2 separate regions of the Homo sapiens genome follow, and region 2 is linked to region 1. Evidence: promoter capture Hi-C in human tissues and cell types (Jung and others, 2019). All regions are on one chromosome and are shown on one strand. The core of a region is centred on a gene start or on the middle of the fragment in contact, and the rest is flanking DNA. Distances in the headings are between cores, read along the strand shown.

Region 1 (2,700 bases), core at 122-2,621:
CCTCACAGGTCTTTAGACTTCTACGCACCAGGTACCTGGTAGGGGGAGGGATTATAGTGGCAGAAGAGCAGTACCAGTGGCCCACACCACACACCCTGGCCTCAGCTGGCTGGGGCACACAAAACCAGGTGCTACCGTCAACGACTAGGCCCATAGGGTACTGCTGTCAAAACCTGCTGCCAACAACTTCCACACACTCCCCAAAACGCTCGGTAGGCGGTGGTGCGCAGCTTTCAATGCATCCGCCGCCAGGCGCTCACAGGCAAGGGAGAAAGAAGCCAGACGGAGCTCGGAGATGTGGAGGGCAGACGCAGGCGCATTTGGAAAAGGGACTGGCGGTGGGAGGCGCAGAGGGAAAAAGGAACGACACAATCGGGCTTCCTAGCCGCTGGCGGACCCGATGGGGCGTCCTGCGAGGGTTCGGCGAGGGTTCTGCCAGGATAGTAGCATTGCGCCCAAGGAGTGAGAGGCACCCGGGGCTACTGGAGCCAGACCCTCAACCCGCCCTAGTGGGAGGCGAAGAACAACGAAAGCCTCGTATTCCCATTTCTCTAATGGCTAATGACATTAAAGGTTTTCATATGGTTATTTGCCATCTGCATATCTTCAGTGAAGTGTCTGTTTATGTCTTCTGACTATTTTCTAATTGGATTTTTAAAAATAATTGATTTTTGAGTTATTTACATATTCTAGATACTGGTTGTATGCCAGATATATGGCTTGTAAATATTTTCTCCTAGGTAAACCTTTTCAGTATCGTTACAGGGTCTTTCACAAAGCAAAAGTTTTAAATTTATGGAGTCTAATTCATCAACATTTCTTTTTACCGGTCTTGCCACTAATGTCAATTTAAGAACCTTTTGCCTAGCCTTAGACAATAGTTTGTTGTTTTTTAAAACCGTTTTGTAATTTTACTCGTCACAGTTATATCTAGCCACTTAATTTTTATGTAAGGGTTATTTTTGGCGGGGGGGAATCTATAGATGTCCTGTCTTTTCAGTATCATTTGTGGAAAAGATTATCTGTCCTGCATTAAACTGCTTTTGGACTTTCGTCTAAAATCAGTTGGACCGGTTTTTGTTGGCAAAGTTTTGCCTGAAGCTTATTCCAACAGGTGAGAAAAAGTCCACAGTTTAACAGTTCCTCCCCAACCTGTAACCCCGCCTTGAACTTCTGGACTAGCCCCTCGATTGTTGTAGATGCCAAGCGGACCTCGCGCCGCTCTGCGTTGGGCCAGCCCCTCACAGCTGGTTTCTTACCACGTATTGCGCAAGCGGAATCTATGCCTGTTACCCACACTCCCTGCGCCCCCGCACCCCGCTCCTGTGCGCAAGTCGGAATATAAAACCGCGGAGGAGTGAGCTCTTGGGGTGTCCAGTTGGTTGCCGCGGCAGTCTCTCCGAGCAGCGCATTTGTCTTCTAGGCTGCTTGGTTCGTGCCTCCGAGAAAGGTAAGTCTTTCTTTCGCTTTTTTAGGGGTACTTGAAAACAACAAGTGTCAGACAAAGCAGCAGATGCTGTTGCGCAGTAGAAGTTTATGGGCGAGTTGTCCCTGAAACTGGAACCAGGTCTTTCTTGGCGCGATTACGCAAGAACCACCCGCAGCCCTGCGGGCTCCTGGCAGGTCCTGCAACTGCACTTTGGATAGTCCCGTTGGGAAGCTAGCACTTTTTAATATAGAAGAACGAGGTTTGATAAGTGTGCGAGCTTAAAGGTTGACACAGTGTCCACTATTACAGCTGCGTAGGTAGCTAGTGTTCAGGAAGTAATAGTGGAGTCATGTAGTGTGAAAGTAAGATTGAAATGGGCGAGGAGGGTAGCAGCCGCCACAGCCACCAGAGAGAAACCTGACCTTGCAGGTGCGTGGTGATGTCCATGAGCCAGGCTGGTGCCGCAACAGCAGCGGCGGGACCTTGAGCTCCGCACGGCCGCTGGGTTTGGACGCCCTCTGGTTCCTGGAAACTTTCACCTCCCCCTCAGCCTGAGGCCAGGTGGCCTGGGAAGGTGGAAGGAGTGTGGAGGGGAGTGGGGGGGGGGGTCCACTGCCTGAGAATGAGAATTCTCTTCACATCTGGAAACTTCAGTTATCACGTGTGTCCTTTACCAATTTTTTTTCTTTTATTTTCTTTTTGATAGAGACGGCGGTCTCCCTATGTTACCCAGGCTAGTCTTGAACTCCTGTGCTTAAGCGATCCTCCCACCTTGACTTCCCAAAGTGCTGGAATTACAGGCATGAGCCAATGCGCCCGGCTGCTTTACCAATTTTCTATGAATGAATTTGTACATACATCCCCTAGAGCAGGAAGTAATGTAAAACAGAATAATTAGTAATGCACATTTCCTAATGTGGGATGTTGGTGGCCAAGAGATATTTGGTCTTTACTGGAACTCTTGATACTAACATGGAGTTTATAATAGTTGTGGAGAGTGCAGACAAGGCTAGGATTTCTGTGACTAGAGAACTCTTAGTGCGTGAAGACCTAAGGAAAGCTGGATTGTTGATTTTTGTTAATAAATAAGATGTGAAAGATTGCATCACTGTAGCAGAAATCTCCTAGTTTTTTAAGCTAAATTCTATTAAAGGTCATCATTGCTAAAGGAATTGTGCCCAGGATTTGGATAGCTGATGTCATTACTTAATATTAGATGATATCAACTAACCACATCTCATAGACTGGAATAAAGTGCTAGATTTTACCTG
Region 2 (2,700 bases), core at 180-2,679, 34 kb before region 1:
TACTGGTTGTCAAAAAGCAATTTCACTCTGCTTCTCACACAAAGAACACACTTGTGCCCTTCCCTCAAATCCTATCCCATCACAGCATTCAGCCTCAAGTCCAGGATCTCTGAGTGATGGGCAGCAATTGCCATCAGGTGCTGATTTTGCTTCTCGAGTTTGGTGACCTATTAATGAAAAAGGAAAGTTATTCCCCATTACCCCCAGGGCCACTCACCATGCACATGATTACAGAGGAAGAATAAGATAATCATAATGAACGCCCATTAGAAAACAGAGGAAGAATGTGAGGCACACTGTGGTCACTGGACCTTGGCAATTCAGAAATCCCACTAGGCAGACATTGTAAAGGCTCTCTACCCTAAACGAGGAAGTCCTTAGTTAGGCTGTGATCTGCTCTATGGGATGATCTTTCTCACTCACTGTTCTGGGAGGCCCCTAGTCTTGTTCTTTGGGAAGCTCTTCCCTGTTCATTTTCATATTTGTTCATCTCCAACATGGGTGTTAGAGTAGACCCAAGTACACTCACTTTCTTCCTGAGATTTTCTTTAAAAAGCAACTCTCCATAATACAGACTTTTCTAGACCCGGCTTATGGTTTCTTTGGTAGTAAAATTGCCTCAAACAGTAGTAGGTTTTTGTTTCATTTGTTGCTAATCTGTTTCCTGTGTCATTAACAGCACTTCTTTTCTGATGCACCCTTCAAATATGTTTTCTTTCTCTGTCTAACTACCCGCCATGCCTCTCTTACTAACTTGAAGCTAGCAGGCTCATGAGACATCAACACCCTTCATCTCATCTGTACTACCAAGTGAGTCTAATGGACTTTTCTGGCTTCCTGTATCTTTTTTCTTTTTATTCAGGATCTAGAAGCAGTTTTTTCCTCTTCTATTCAAAGCCCAACATTAGATATTCTCTGTTTCCTTTCACCTGTGCTTGCCACACACAATTTTTGCCCAAGCACACCTTTGTCTTGTAATATCTTACTCAAAGCAGCCATAGTGGCCAACACACACTATCTTTCTGACTTACAATCACTTTTCTAGAACTTTAGGCAGGCAACCATTTTGTCAAATAGTTTGGCATAGCAAAACAGGGCTCCTCAGCCATTCCAGTCTCTAATAATTTGTCTCCTCACCAGCCCAGGTCACATGCTTTAGTTTTCTGTTGTAGGAGCACCCACTTCAAAGTATCAATGTTTAATTTGGTTAGGGTAGTCCACAGTATGCTGTGATTACAGAAAAGTCCAAGCATATAAAGGCTCAGTAGGGAAATAGTTTATTTCTCAGTTGTCTCAAAGTCTATTGCAGGCTGAGTAATTCTCCAGGAAGTAATTTGGGAGCTACAGCTCCTTCTACCCCATAGTTCTATTATATTCTATGCATGACTCTCAGAGTGGTCTTGAAAGTTCTCTCCATTCCAGTCTTATGGTAGAAGGATAGGTCTGAAAGTGGCATACATGACTTTCACCCATAATGTTCATTTTGGCTGGAGAGTCAGTCATAGCTGTGCCTAATGCCAGAGAGGCTGGGAAATGTAGTCCAGCTGTGTGCCCAGGAAGAGGAAGATACAGGTTTGGTAAGGATCTTGCCAGTCTCTGCCACTGTTAGCTATGAAATTGGCCCCAAGGCCTGTCTATTCTGCCTCCATAATCTCTCTACATATTTTTACTCCTATTTTCAATATCCCCTCTTTTGTATATATTCTTTCATAGTTTTTAATAATAACTTCTATGTTTCTCTCCAGGCTCTTATCCTTCAAATTTCATTTAGATAGTTGCCAGTTATTTTTCTAAAGCTCAGATCTGATCATATTACTCTCCTTGCCCAAAAATGCCATTGTCCTCCACACTCAGGATTACAGAATGAAGTGCAAACTCTTTAGCCTGTTGCATAAGTTCTACACACCCTATGCTCTCACATGGCAGACTTTGCCTATACGTCATGTTCTTTCCTTTCCTGCCTTAGTGCATGTGGTGTACTGTTGGCCTCCTCTACTTGTTCAAATAACACTTGTATGTTAAGACTTTCATGAAGCTGTCCTTGAGTTGCCACGTTAACAAGGTCCTTTCCTCCAACATTCTCAGTCCCTTGCTTATCAGTCCCCTTGATTCTTACATTGTTACTGTGATATGCTATAATTATTCTCACCTTATGTGTCCAAGGACAGCTGTATATTTACAAATAGCAGAACCAATAGGAAAGTTTGAAATATTTACATCTCCAAATTATGAAGGAAAACAAGATCAACATCCTTGTAAATGTCAACTCAAGACTTTAAGAAATCAGATTCTCTGTACAAGCTTTATGAGTCAGAAGAAAACATCTCTCCCACTGTTAGTGCAGGAAAAAGGAAGCATCTTGTCCATCTTGTCTAAAAACCTTTTTGTTATTAATAATTTAAAACACTTCATTGTAAACATTGGCTATTGTAATCCTATTAATTAGCCTTAAAGTTTTAAAGTAAGTAATCTGTAAGTATGATATGGAAAGAGAAAAAGAAGAGTAACTTTATAGTGAAGAAACCTGATAAACATTACCTCAGCCAGGTGATCAAGGTTAATATCTGATATAGTTTGGCTCTGTGTCCCCACGCAAATCTCATGTTGTACTGTAATTCCCAATGTTGGAGGTGAGGCCTGGTGGGAGGTAATTGGAACATTTGGGTGGTTTCTAATGGTTTAACACCATCCCCCTAATGC

The links. The method cuts DNA at HindIII sites, captures the fragments that hold promoters and counts their contacts. A contact is called where the count stands out against the background at its distance.
Region 2: a fragment that was not itself captured here is called in contact with the fragment with the promoter of DIRAS3 in region 1 in 1 of the 25 tissues and cell types used here (thymus).

What each region holds. Positions count from the first base shown.
Region 1 is chr1:68,049,298-68,051,997 of GRCh38, reverse strand. DIRAS3 (DIRAS family GTPase 3) reads left to right here and starts at 1,371. Exons shown (of 2, transcript NM_004675.5): 1 at 1,371-1,450. The region is part of intron 2 of GNG12-AS1 (GNG12, DIRAS3 and WLS antisense RNA 1); the gene reads right to left. It also overlaps the pseudogene ARL5AP3. The HindIII fragment of the contact is 12,521 bases long and covers 1-2,700 here.
Region 2 is chr1:68,083,152-68,085,851 of GRCh38, reverse strand. All of the region lies in intron 3 of GNG12-AS1 (GNG12, DIRAS3 and WLS antisense RNA 1), which reads right to left. Among named protein-coding and RNA genes, the nearest start is that of DIRAS3, 34 kb to the right of the region's middle. The HindIII fragment of the contact is 6,559 bases long and covers 1-2,700 here.